2 separate regions of the Homo sapiens genome follow, and region 1 is linked to region 2. Evidence: promoter capture Hi-C in human tissues and cell types (Jung and others, 2019). All regions are on one chromosome and are shown on one strand. Each heading gives the region's core, a stretch centred on a gene start or on the middle of the fragment in contact. The rest is flanking DNA. Distances are from core to core; before and after follow the strand shown.

Region 1 (7,551 bases), core at 4,772-7,271, 1.1 Mb before region 2:
GTGCAAAGGCTCTGAGCTGGGGGAGAGTTGAGTGGGTGCAGGGAAACGAAAGGCCTGTGTGTTGGGGATGGGTGGTGGTTGTGGGCGTGGGTGTGTGCGGTGGGTGTGGGAAGGGTGGGGTGGGAGATGAGTCAGGTGGTGGGCCAGCCCCTGTTCAAATATCACCTCCTCCTTCTGTCACCTGAAACTCTGTTAGCTATTCCCTCTGTAGCCACCTCACCTCACACTTTGGCCACAGACCCTACCTCAACCTGGGGCACTGTGAGGCCCTAGAAGTCTCCAGGGGGTCCTCTCCAAGGTAATGAGACATACCCATGTATATACATATGTATGCATATATACATTTTATGGCTATAAAATTGGAAATAATTTTTATAACTTCCTTTTCAAAATATTTGGCTATGACAAACTTGACTAACATATAAGCTTCTTGATTTCTGATTTCCTGGCAATCATCATACGTAACTGGGAATTCCAGAAAATTCTGGAAAATTTTCAAGAATTCTAGAAAAATCTAACCTCCAATTTGTCCTCGAATGTAATGAAATTTTCACAAACACTAAATTTCATAGTTACTAAAGCTGCCATCTTTCATCTGATAGATGTTTCATATAACAAGTTTTAATTTTGATTTTGCCCTTTTATCTTTGAACTTTCAGGTCATCACATTTATTTTTCAGGTCTCAAATACTACCCTGGGGCACCAAAAATCTCCAGCCTGTGCCCACCTGACGCCAGCGGTGGAACAGCCACACCCGCTCTGTACTACAGATAGGGATGATGCGGCTGACTCCTCAGGGGTGACAATGGGGCAGACCCTGCGGGTTTTGTAGGTCTGGCAAGGGCTCTGGCTTTTGCACAGGGTGAGATGGGAACCACTGGGGTTTGAATAGAAGAGTGACATGACACTCCCCAAAGGCAGGCAGGGCGGGAGCTTCCTTTTTTTTTTTGAGACAGGGTCTCACTCTGTCACTCAGGCTGGAGTGCAGTGGTGTGATCTTGGCTCACTGCAGCTTCTATCATCCAGGCTCAAAAATCATCTTGCCTTAGCCTCCTGAGTATCTGGGACCACAGGTGTGCACCACCACACCTGGCTACTTAAAAAAAATTTTATAAAGGGGGTGGGGATCTTACTATGTTGCCCATACTGGTCTCAAACTCCTGGGCTCAAGCGATCTGCCTGCCTTGGCCTCCCAAAGTGCTGAGATTACAGGCGTGAGCCACTGCACCTGGCCTGGTGTTGCTTCCTGTACCCTCAGCCTGACAAGCGTGGGGCCTGGCATGCAGTAGGCATTCCCTGATAGCTCGTGGATTTCCTGGAAAGTGAGGAGGCACTGGGCAGCAGGTCCTTGGTCCATTGTCCATGCCTGCTCATGGCTCAGAAGGACATGTGGAGGGCAGGAGACCTGGTGAAGGGCGGGGGGACCAAAGCTTGCAGATGCCCAAGACTGTGTGCAGTCCTCACCTGGCACACCCACGCCTTGTCTGCCGGGTGTACTATTTGATAACGGCAATCCAGGCTGGTGTCCTGTGCAGCCCCCTTTTCCCAGAGCAACCTTCCTCACCTGCCCCTCAATCCCCTTTGGGAGGAATTTCCCAAAAACCTAAGGGAAAGGTGAGGGTTGACCAGAAGGTGTTCAGAGGTGAGATCCAGCCCCAGCTCTTGGAATCCCTGGCTGGGGTGGGGAGGAGGTTACCCTGGGCCAGTGCAGTGCCCACAAGGCGGCAGCAGAGAGCACCCACCAAAGAGCCTAGAGAGCTGTGTCAAAGGGCGAGGGTCCTGGTTTCTAAACCTGGCCCTGGGCTGGAAGGAATTCCTCTACGGGGCTTTGAAAAAAATCGCAGATTCCAGATCCCTCACCTCTGCCCTATTCCACTGTGCCTATTCCAGTGCCAGAGCCATACTTGGCAGTGGCTCTGGATGGGAGAGGAGGTCAACCTGGAAGGAAGGACAAAGAGGGAGGGAAGGATTGGCCGTCATGCCTATCTTCCTTTCCACATTGTTCACTGACTGGCTGTCAGCTGGTGTGTGGGTGCCCCCTCCCAGAGGAATAAGGACTGGGCCAGGTGGTTTCTAATCCCTTGTCTCCAAGTCAGACAGACCAGGGTTCGAGTCCTGACCGCACCCTTTACTAGCTTTGGGACCTTGGGCAAGCCTTTAAGCTCTAAGTCTGTCTCCTCCACAGTGCAGTGGCAACGGAATCCCTCTGCCTTGTGAGATTACAGTGAGGAGGAGAGAGTTCCTGAGAAGCCCTCAGGGGAGGCTCAGAGCACATCCCAGGTGTTCAGTCAATTGCCAGGATTCATGTCCCCCACAGGGCTGGGTGGGTGGCAGTGGGGATGTTCATGTGGGGACAAGCCTCCTCAAGTAAGGCCACGTGGTGTACAGGGTGGGGGAGGAGAAGGCTGAAAAATGTGGACCTCCCAGCAGAGCAGATGGTGTGGGGGTGGGACCTGGGCTTCCTCAGTTTCCCCAGGATTCTGGTCTCCGCTGGAGATGCCCTGGCTTTGACCGTGTCTCCCCTCTGCACCCTGAATTGTGCACATTCCTGCACATGAGCACACAACACACACAGGGGCCTGTGCAAACCTGGCAAACCTGTGCCAGAAAATTCCTGAGGTGAACAAAACCCCTGCTGGGCAGCCGTGGGGGCCAGCCCGTGGGGGAGGTGACCCAGATGGATGACTGCAGGGGCACAGCAGTGAAAGACAGGTGCTGGGGTGGAGCTGGGGCTTGTGCAGTGTAGGGGTGGGAGCTCTCCAGAGGGGGTGGCCAGAGTCCTGGGCTCTAAGGGCACGTGTGGCTCACAAGCGGAACCGGCCAGAGCTCCCCTGCCACTGTCCCTGGGCTGCCTGAAGCTCCCTTTGACAAAGCCTGAGGCCTACTGACACTGGAGGCCGGATGAGGGCTTTCCCTTGACCTCTGACTGCCTTTCACCATGCAGGAGAACCGCTAGAACTCTATTGCAAGAGCCAGCTCAGAGGGACACAGAGTCCACCAGCCCCATAGGGGAAGGCCCCCTGGAATCGCAGTGGGAGGGGCACAGACCCCTGGGAAGGGCCGCCTGGCAGTTCTGCTGCTCTGCCACCACCTACCGTGGTCACATCAGAGTCTGGAGGGGTCATCTCCACCAGGTTGATGTAGTAGGGTGCGTCCTTCCACGTGGGGTGGTTGTCATTGATGTCCAGGAGGGTGATGTTTACCTGTGAAGCCATAAGGGGCGCTGGGAGACACACCCAGCTGAGATGGGCCAGGGCAGGGCCTGCCAGGGGAAAAGTGCTCAGATGCCCACGGGCAATCTTCGCATTAATTCTGCCAGCTCCACCAACCTTGGGAGCCTTGGGCAGAGCCTGGGCTTTCGAGGGCAGGAAGGAGCCAGGCCGCTTCAGGAGAGAGAGTTCCAGTGTTGTCCCATCAGGAGGCAGTGGAATGGATGTGATAAGCCCTGAAATCCTTGCTGTGACCTGGGGCTTCCCCCATCCCTGCCTCCAGTCTTGGCTGAAGGTGACTGACAGGGTGGGGGATCTAATAGAATCCCTTGAGCCTCCCCGTCTCAGCTACAAGCCAAGCAATTTCCCTGCTCACCTGCCACCAGGTACATTATTTATAGGGCTCTGATTCCTATTAGTAGGAGCCTCCCTTGACAGAGTAGGGCACTGGGGATTTTTCCATCAAATCCCTGGCCACGCGATACCGTCTCCAGCCTCTCTGGCTGGGTAAGGATGGGGTGGCTGCTGCAGACTGGGTGAGGGCCACAGTTTTGAGGGTGAGCCAAAGAAACCGAATGGGGAACAAAGAGGGGAGGTGGCTGGAGTGACTGTCAGCTGGTCCTCCCGCTTCCTCTCCCACAGAGGGCTTCTCACTTCCCCTTTCACTTCTGCAGCCGAGAGCTCATTCGAGGCCCCCACGTTTCGTTCCTCTAGCTTTCTACTCTCTGGGGCACATTAGATGGGGGAGAACAAGCCCCCAGGGACCCTCCAGGGCCCTGCTTCCTGCTCTGAGCTGCTCTTCCTCGCAGGAATGCCTGCTTCTGCTTTGTTGACAGGCACCAAGGCAAGGAGGGGCCTATGGGGCTCATGCCTTCTGCCACCTGCCCTCCTGGATTTTTAGGGGCAGGAGAGAAAGTATTTCATTTTGCTCCTCCCAAGTGCCCCTACATTCCTGGTGGTGATGCCTTTCTTCCCCACAGCTGTGGTGGCCCCGGGGGCTGACCTCTGCTGCTGATGGGTTCATTTTCGCCCCCTTGCTCATTCTCACAAAGCCTCACACTGGCTCAGGACACGGGGGTCCAGAGGTACAAGCAGGGAGCAGCAGCCTGGCCGGCGAGGGGGAGCTGGGGCACGGGAGGGGAGCGCACTCACGGTGGCGATGCCAGTTTTCTGGTTGTGGCCCACACCCCCGTCCACTGCGCGAACGATGAGGATGTATTCAGACTTGGTCTCTCGGTCAAGCAGAGACGTGGTGGTGATTTCCCCTGCCAGAGAGAGAAGTGGGTGCGTGAGAGGGTTTGGGTGGGCCAGGGAGAGAGGGAGGGAAGAAGAGAGAGAGCGAGGGAAGGAGAGAGGGTGAGAACTTGCACGAGAAATGTTAGCAAGCTACCATGATCTGGCGGCCTGGATGTGTTCCTGAGCTGGTGCTCACAGTGGGAGACGGGAGAGCTCCTGTGCCTTGGGAGCTGGTTCCCCAGGGCTGGGCAACATAACCCCATGAGGAGGAAATATTTGCAGATGTGGGAAAATCTAGGCTGATTCTCGGGGTTAGGGGCTGGAGAACAGGGCAGGAGGGCCATTAGGCCTTAAGCTCAGTCACAGATCACCTCTTGTTTAGACTTTTGACATTATCTTACTGGCTTTCTCACCTGGAGCTAGTTACTTCAATCCTCTGTGCCTCAGTTTCCTCATAGGGTCCAAAGGGAACCATAATAGGAACTACCTCATAGGGCTATTGTGGGGTTAATTTAATTAAGATCATGGAAATCTTAGAACAGTGCCAGGCACTGTTTATTTATACAGTCACAGAAATACAATGACAGGAAATAAAAACACCGGGTGTTCACATGCGTCTAACTTGTGACTCATTACTGGACAGTTCAACCTATCCAACCTTATCGTGCATTGATAATTAATAGTTATAAAATAATTTCCTAATTACATTGTGAAGAGCATAATTACATTGCCTCGAGTTGTTTTAGTGTGCTAAATCTGAACAATTAAACAACATTTCTTGTTCGCCTGTATTTGGTCTTTCTTTGTATTTTGGTGTAACTGAAATGCAAACATCACCCTGATAGTGGCGTGCTGGTAAATGTTTGACAACTGGCTCCCCAAAATAAAAAAAAAAAAAGGCATTTGCCAATTTCCTTGGTGTAAATAGCCCCACCAGGGCCCATTTTAAGCTACCAACTTGGTGGTATTGAATATGGAGTTCACAATTGAGTGCCTCGCTAGCTCTTGGGAGCAGGGTGAGCCAGTCCCAGCAGACTTCAGCAATCACAGCAGCCAGGCCATTTACTATCTTGCATCAGCCATGGGAGAGCACCCACGTGGTGAAGATGTGAGATGTGGATTTGAATTCTGATTATGGCCCTTCCCAGACGCTTGGCCTTGGAGAATTTTAATTCTTTGAAGCTTCAGTTTTCTCATCTATAAAATGGAGATTAGTGTGACTTCCATGCAGAGCCGTTGTGAGGCTACAGTAATTCTAGGTGAGGCTCCCAACACTCAGAAAATGACTGTTTTCTTCCAATGGACCGTGAGCATTCTCCACGGGCAGGGCCTGTGTGCTATCCATCTTTTTATCCCCATTGCCTGAGCTGTGTGACCTGGGCCAAGTCGCTTAACTTCTCTGTGCTTGGTTCTTTCCACCATAAAACAAGGCAGCTGGACCAGATTGCTTTTAGGACTGCTTCTACCCTGACAGTTCCCTCTGTGGCACACTGGCTTGCCCTCTGGTCTGTGCAGGGGCTGAGCAGGGAGCTGGGGGTGGGTGACAGGGCAGCTTAGGTGCTGAGGCCAGGAATGGAAGACTCACAAAGGTCTGCCCAACGAGCCACACTCCCTGCCAGGGTGGTGTCAAGTAATTGGCAGGGCGAGGAAGAAATTAATCTCTAAAAAGTTTTAAACGTGAACTTGTCGGCATGATAGATGGCCTCTCCTGTCTAGGAAATTAGATCCAATTAAGGCCACCTCTGTGGAGCAGCCCTGGCTAATTTGACCGAGGAACTCAGAGGAAAACACTTACACCTTTGGAGACAAAGTCGTGTTAAGGCAGCAAGAAAATGTCTGTGTCATTAAAGGCCCCAGGTGGAGCTGGAGCCCCGACTGGGGAGGCAAGGGCGGGGGTGGCTAAAAGGCCAGGGAGCTACTCATATAATGGCGCCTTTAATGTTTGGATTCTGGAGTCAGAAGTTCGTGCTCTGCGAGTCCTCAGTCAGGTTACTTAACCTCCCCAGTGGCTCAGCTTCCTCATCTGGAAAATGGGGATAAGGCTAGTACCTGCCTCACAGGTGAGGAGGGCAGAATGAGATGCTGCTGCTGCTCAGAGCCCTGGGAACAGTGCTGGGCATGTGGTTCATATCCATTCATGACATGACTCTGAGACCCCTGGGAATGAGGGCTCACTGTGGGGGAAGCTCCTGAGAGCTGGGAGGAGGGCCCTCACTTTCTCAGAGATAGAAAAGGAGGCTCACAGTGGCCCTGGGTCCCCTTCCTCAGTCTTCGTACCCATCAGCACCGGCCATCTGCTCCCCAAGCCTCCAGGAAAAGGGATTGAAGGCTGACTTCCAACGTGGAGGGATGGATAGCAGGAAGAGCTGATGCCCTGCTGGCCACTGACCACCTGCAGCAGGGATGGCCAGTGTCCACCAAAGATTCCTGCTCCCTTCCCAGGGGAGAATTATTACTTGGATGTGACTGCCAGGCAGGGCCTGGCCCATAACCTCCTCCTAGTGCTCTGACAACCCATGCTCTCTTTTCCCTTCTGCAGTGACCTTGGAGCCACAACATGGAAGGGGCCTGGGTCCCAGAATCATCATGTGGAAGGCTGTCACTCAACATCTACATGGGTTGACTATATGAATTTGAATTTGTATTGTCTCAAGCCACTGAGATAGGGTGTAGCTGTTTAGCATCGACAGTTCCTTTAACTCATACAGAAATGCGTATTGGAAGTGGGGTGCCTTGCATGCCCACTGAGCTGACTAGCAACCTCATGAGGTCAGAGCCATGTCTTATTCCTTCCTGTACCCCAGCACCTGGCTCAGAGCAGCCCCCACCCCAATTTCTGAATGAACATATGAATAAATGAACATATGAATGAATGTACAGAAGTCCCAATTCTTCCCCAGGTCTGGCTGAAAGCCTGGATCTCTTGCTGCTTCTTTCTGCCCACTTTTTCTCCCAGCTTCAAGGAAGAGAGAAAACTGAGGAATGTACATGGAGAGACGAAGAAGAAAGAAGAGAGTTACATGGGCTGAGCTGGGAGCTGGGGGCAGGGGGCTCACAGGTGAATAAACAAAAGAGAATAATGATGGTAATTTTTTTTAGCACTTT
Region 2 (6,907 bases), core at 4,230-6,729:
ACTTGTGGGCATGAAGCACGGCGCTCCAGCCATGGAGCATGGTATCCATGGGGCAACCAAAGGGACAACCACTGTAGACCACACTGCACCTAGGCCCACTAGCCACACTTGAGGTGACCAACGAGCTCTGTGCCAGAATGCATGGAGTAGAAATTTGATGCAGCCCTGGGCAGCAAACCACAAAGCCCCAAAGGCATCCTGGGTCCCTCCCTTGAAACCATTCGGACCACAAAACCCTGGCACTCTGGGCCTGTAATAGTAGTGGCAGCCTTGAGGATCTCCAAAATGCCTTGGGGGCCATTTTCCCATCGTCTTGATGAATATCACCTGGCATTCTTCTAGCCATATAAATCTCCCTATCAAACATTCACTTGGCCACACCATTGGTATTCTCTCTCAAACACTTTCTCATTCTTTACAACCTGGCCACGCTGAGAACTTTCCAACTCTTTTAAGTTCTACTTCCCTTTTAACTATATGTTTCACCCTTAATTCATTTCTCTCATCTTGTATTTTACTGTAAGCAATCAAGAAAAGCCATGCTGCATCCTCAACACTTTGCTTAGAGATTTCTTCTACCAAATATACTCTTTCGTTGCTCATAAGTTTTGCCTTCCACAAAACACTAGAACACAAACACAATGCAGCCAAATTCTTTGCCACTTTATAACAAGGATCACCTTTCTTCCACTTAACAAGAAGATGTTTCTTATTTCCATCTAAGACCTCATCAAAGTAGCCTTTACCGTTTATATTTCTACCAATGTTCCACTTGCAACCACTTAAATAATCTCTAAAATGATTGAAGCTCTCTCTACAGTTCTCCTCGTCTTCTGAACCCTCACTAGAAAAACCCTTTATAGTCCGTTCACAGAAATACAAGTTTTTTTCAGCATGAACCTCAAACTCTTCCAGCCTCTACCCATTACTCAGCTGCAAAGCTCCTTCCACATTTTTAGGTATTTGTTACAGCAGCACCCCACTCCCAGCACAATTTCTTGCTTAGTCTACTCCTGCTGCCATAGCAAAATATGTTAGACTGGATAATTTATAAATAATAGAAATGTATTTCTCACAGTTATGGAGGCTGGAAAGTTCAAGATCAAAGTACCAGCAGACGTGGTATCTGGTGAAAGTTTGCTCTCTGCTCCACAGACGGTGCCTGTTGCTGTGACCTCATATGGTGGAAGGGCAGAAGAGCAAGAAGGTACAAACAGACTCCCTCAAGCCCTTTTATAAGGGCACTAATCCCATTCATGAAGGCAGAACCCTCATGACCTAATTACCTCCTAAAGGCCCCACTCCTTAATACTATTGCATTGAGGATTAAGTTTCAACATGAATCTTGGAGGGACATGAACATTCCAAGATAGCAAGATTTATGGCACTGTTCTATCTAAAGCAGGTATTTTATAACCTAAAAAAATCAAAACCATATACGATATCCACATGCAAAAGAATGAAGTTGGACCCCTTTCCATACACAAAAATTAACTCCAAATGGATAATAGACCTAAATATAAGAGCTAAAACTATAAAACTCTTAGAAGAAAACATAGGAATAAATCTTCATGATCTTGGATTAGGCAGAACCTTCTTAGATATGGCATTAAAAATATAAGCAACAAAAGAAAAAAATAGGTAAATTGAACTTCAACAAAAGTAAAAAAATTTTTTTTTTTTTGAGACAGAGTCTTGCTCTGTCACCCAGGCTGGAGTGCAGTGGCATGATCTCGGCTCACTGTAAGCTCCGCCTCCTGGGTTCATGCCATTCTCCTGCCTCAGCCTCCTGAGTAGCTGGGACTACAGGCGCCCGCCACCACGCCCGGCTAATTTTTTGTATTTTTTTAGTAGAGACGGGGTTTCACTGTGTTAGCCAGGATGGTCTCGATCTCCTGACTTCGTGATCCGCCTGCCTCGGCCTCCCAAAGCGCTGGGATTACAGGCATGAGCCACCCCTCCCGGCCTGTAAAATCTTTTTTTTTTTTTTGAGACAGTGTCTCGATCTGTCACCCAGGCCAGAGTAAAGCGGTGCGATCTTGGCTCATTGCAGCCTCGACCCCTCAGGCTCAAGAAATCCTCCCACCTAAGCCTTCTGAGTAGCTTGGACTACAGGGGTGTGTGTGTGCCACCACTCTCAGCTAATTTTTTTTTTTTTTTCCAGAGACAGGGTCTTGCCATGTTGCCCAGGCTGGTCTCGAACTCCTGGGCTCAAGCAATCCTCGCACCTCAGCCTCCCAAATAGCTGGAACTATTTGGAACTATCCCAAAAAGCAGGCACACATCACCATGCCTGGCTAATTTTTGTATTTTTTGTACAGACAGGGTTTTGCCACATTGCCTAGGTTGGTCTTGAATTCCTGGACTTAAGCGATCCTCCTACCTTGGCCTCCCAAAGTGCTGGCATTACAGATGTGAGCCACCATGCCTGGCCAAAAGTAAAATATTTTTATACTTCAAGGGCACCCTCAAGAAAGTGAAAAGAAAGACAACTGCCAAAATAGGAAAAAATATTTGCAAATTCTATATCTGACAAGGGTCTAGAAGTCAAAACGTAGAAAGAGCTATTACAATTCAACAATAAAAAGACAACTCAGTTCAAAATAGGGGCAAAGGACTTGAATAGACATTTCTCCAAAGAAGGTGTACAAATGGCCAATAAGCATATGGAAAGATGTTCAACTTCATTAGCCACTGGGGAGATCCAAGTCAAAACCACAATGAGGTACGACTTCACACCCACCAGGATGGCTATAATCAAGGTTTGGCAAGGAACTAGTGGAACCTTGGTTTGATTTGGAAAGGAGGAATTAGAACTCTCATAAGCTGCTGGAGAAATGCAAAACAATGCAATCACGTTGGAAAACACTTCCTCAAAAAGTTAAACCTATAGTTACCACATGTCCCAGCAAGTCCACTCCTAGATATATACTCAGGAGAAATGGAAACATATGTCCACACAGTAACCTGTACACAAATGTTCATAACAGCATTATTCATAACAGCTAAAAAGTAGAAACAACCAATAAATCCATCAGTTATGAATGGGTAAACAAATTGTGATATGTCCATATAATATAATATTATTCAGCCATGAAATGGACTAAAGTACTGATACATGCTACAACATGGATGAACCTTGAAAGTATTATGTTAAATGAAACAAGCCAGACACAAAAGGCCACATATGCTATGATTCTTTTTATATGAATTGTCGAAAATGGGAAAATTAACAGAGAGATAAAGTAGATTAGCGTTATGAAGAAATGAGAAATGGCCAGGCACGGTGGCTCACGCCTGTAATCCCAGCACTTTGGGAGGCCAAGGTGGGCTGATCACTTGCAGATCAGGAGTTCAAGACCAGCCTGGCCATCATGGTGAAACCCCGTCTCTACTAAAAATACAAAAAAAAAAAAAAAAAATTAGCCAGGCGTGGTAGCGCATGCCTGTAGTCCCAGCTACTGGGGAGGCTGAGGTGGGAGAATCGCTTGAACCTGGGAGGCAGAGGTTGCAGTAAGCCGAGATCATGCCACTGCACTCCAGTCTGGGTGACAAATCAAGACTTCATCTCAAAAAAAAAAAAAAAAAGAAAAAGAAAAAGAAAAAGAAATGAGAAATGACCACCAGTGGGTATAGGTTTTATTTCTGGAAAGTGATGAAGATGTTCTAAAATTGACTGTAGCGGTGGCTGTACAACTCTGTGAACATACTAAAGCCATTGAATCATATACTTGAAATGGGTGAATTATATGGTATGTGAATTACATCTAAAGATTGTTGTTACTAAAGAAAACCATATACATGGTGTCTGGTGATTGAACAAATTACGCACTTGTTGAAACTTGTGTCTCTGAGGAAAAACTCTGCTTAATGCACATTCAAGTGTCAAGTTTCAGAAGGACAGCTGTCATCAGTTAAACGAGTCAAAAACAGTCATCACCCTCAATGTCATTTCGGCTCTTTAATGGATCCCCTAACAACCACTAGCATCTCTTGGGCATTAGCCACTTCATAAGCCACTTGAAACCTGCCAAGTGTACATTTTATCATTAGCTGGAAGGATGTGTAGAATTCCAAAGTCCTCTCTTTGATTTTATAGGTGAGGAAACTAACGCTCAGAAAGGGGGTTGATATCTATCGCCGTGAGGCATACGGTAAGTTTCTGGTGAAGCTGGGATCAGAACCTGTTTAGACTTTGCCTCTCTTTTCCCGCAGATACTTTGCAGGACTTCTATGTCCCTCAAACCGGCCTTCCTGTCATGGTCAGGAAAGAAACTCCTCACAGCCTCAGCATCCAAGTCAGGCCATGGGTGACAGCTGGAAAGTGATCAGGAGGCTGCAGTTTCTAGAAGAGGGTGGGGACACTGCGGAGAGAAGATGGGGCCAGATTCCGAGAAGACAGCATAAGCCCCTGTTCCTGTAAGAGCAGGGACGGAAGCAGGGACATAAACGCAAGGGATGAGCCCCAAAGTGTGACCCATGAGACATGATGTCACATGTGGTCTGGAGCCTGCGGCCACTTCTTCCCATCATATACACAGTTATGAGAACAAGTTGTGAGAACCACCTCCTCCCTTACCCAGCTGCCCCCACCCCAGAAGCCGTGTGATTTTGCCCCCCAGTGCCCTGTGAGTCACTCCACCCATGGAAACCTCACCCCACCCTGACCTCAAGCAAGGCAGAGTGCAGAAGACATGTCCTCCGGTGCTACCAGACCACTCTCACCAGCACCCACGACCTCAGCAGGGCTGGAGCCAGCGTGGAGGCCACTGGCTGTCCTCACAAAGCGAGGAGCAGGAGCCCCTGTTCGAGGAACATGCTTGGAGTTCGGAGCCTGGGCTAGGGTGGGATGTAGGTTGAGCAGGAAGTGGATGGCAAGATTAGAGCAACATCTCTCTTCTCCCACTCAGGGAGGAGGGAATGGCCACAGGCTCTGACACTCAAGAAGGGCCAGGCACAGTTCCAAGCACTTCACAACAACCCCTAGGGTCTACATGACCTACAATCCCAATTGTTCAGTGAAGAAACTGAGGCACAGTGAGGCTGAAGAACCCTACCAGTCCACACTGCTGGTGCATAACCGAGCTGCCCAAGCCCCGGCGGTCTGGCGTGTAGGCCCATGCTCTGAGCCGCCGCCTCTGCTTGCCTCTTACATCCCACACATGCGATGCTGTGCATCAGAAGCAAGGAGATGGCCCTGCTGGCCTGTTCATCAACACCAGGGCCGAGTCTCAAAGTCCTCAGCGCCCCGCCCTCCTCCGCCTGTGTGCCCTGAGTCCCCGAGCCCCAGCAGCTCTACTCGGCAGATGAGCCTCTGGCCCTGCTGCTCGCTTCCTGAGGGCTGTCAGTGGGGAGCCGGATGAGGGCTGAGGACAGGGTGGGTGCTTGTGGGAGGGGAGAGCACAAAGGACCTGTGACCACAGCTGGGGGCGGGGCAGGAAGTAGAAGTGATGTGAGTGGTGGCTGGTGCAAGGAGCCACAGTGGGCTGCCTGGGGGGCTGATGCCACCATTCCAGGAGCCTCGGTGAAGAGAGGATATCCATCTGTGTAGCCGCTTCTCTATACGGGATTCCAGGTAAGGAGAGAGCAGGGATTGGGGGGCCTGGGGCCCTGGGTGGAGGGGAAGAGGCTGATGGAGCAGGAAGTGCTGTGACCTATAAGACAAGACACCTGGGTCACAGACGGTGCCCATCACTAACTCGCTGGGCAGCCCTGTGTCCACCCTGGGCCTCAGTTTCCTCATGTATGAAATGAAGAGGTAGCGTGCAGTTTCTAAGGCCCTGCAAGTGCTGACATTAAAGCTTCTAAGAAAGCTGGAAAGAGGCTCCCTGGGACAGAATACCATGAGAGTCAGGATGAGGGCTGAGTTCACTGGATTAGGGTTATGACTGTGCCCGCCTCCTAGCTGGGATGAGCCCAGGGCCTTTGAAGATTCCCCTGGCCTCTTTGCCTCCCTGGGGCGAGCCACGCTGCCTGAAATTCCACCCTTCAAGTCACACCTTTGGGCAGGGCAGGAGGCTCCAGCTATAATGGGGGCTCTCCATAGCCCTCTTGTCTCAGAACCTGTGGTACCCAAGGGCAAAGGCCTTTGAAGAGCTCAGCTTGGATAAGGTTAGGCTTGGGTAAGGTTAGAGAAAGGAGGTTCCAGATCATAAACAGGCCCAGGCAAGGCCCCAGAAACACCTTAAAATTAGGAAGAACCTTCCAGACAATCATTGTCCATAGTAGGCAATAGGGGGGCCCCTGTCACTGCCGAAGGCCACAGAGCTTGGCAGGGAGTGGCAAAGAGGGGAGGGGCAGCAAGAAAGGATCTGAAGAGCAACCATCGAGGCCTCTCCCCACACAAAATCCAAGGGTGTGGTCAGGTCTGCCCCTTTTTTTTTTTTTTTTTGAGGCAGAGTCTTACTCTATCACCCAGGCGGGAGTGCAGTGGTACGATCTTGGCTCACTGCAACCTCCGCCTCCTGGGTTCAAGCGATTCTCCTGTCTCAGCCTCCCAAGTAGCTGGGATTACAGGCACCCGCCACCATGCCCAGCTAATTTTTGTATTTTTAGTAAAGAGGGGGTTTCACCACGTTGGCCAGGCTGGTCTCGAACTTCTGACCTCCAGTGATCCACCTGCCTCTGCCTCCCACAGTGTTCGGTTTACAGGTGTGAGCCACCACACCTGGCCAGGTCGGCAGATTTTATTCTAGAATTCGGGCTGATGTTATTCCATAAAGCTCAGAGGGAGAGCCCCAAAGGGAAAATGAGAAGAATAGGTGCAATATAGGACCTCATTTCTCTTCCAATTCTGTTAAGGGCTCAGTGGGAGGGAGAGAGGTTAGAGAGAGTGACAGAGACAAAGAAACAGAGTGAGAGTCAGGGTGGGCAAAGGGTGGCTTGTTCTGGGGCCAAAAATGACACT

What was found. The method cuts DNA at HindIII sites, captures the fragments that hold promoters and counts their contacts. A contact is called where the count stands out against the background at its distance.
Region 1: a fragment that was not itself captured here is called in contact with the fragment with the promoter of PRF1 in region 2 in 1 of the 25 tissues and cell types used here (H1 embryonic stem cells).

What each region holds. Positions count from the first base shown.
Region 1 is chr10:71,691,071-71,698,621 of GRCh38, reverse strand. It overlaps CDH23 (cadherin related 23), which reads right to left. Exons shown (of 70, transcript NM_022124.6): 21 at 4,363-4,475; 22 at 3,097-3,204. Among named protein-coding and RNA genes, the nearest start is that of C10orf105, 25 kb to the left of the region's middle. RefSeq lists an enhancer at 4,500-4,569. The HindIII fragment of the contact is 4,982 bases long and covers 3,531-7,551 here.
Region 2 is chr10:70,601,313-70,608,219 of GRCh38, reverse strand. It overlaps PRF1 (perforin 1), which reads left to right and starts at 5,479. Exons shown (of 3, transcript NM_001083116.3): 1 at 5,479-5,575. The HindIII fragment of the contact is 18,183 bases long and covers 1-6,907 here.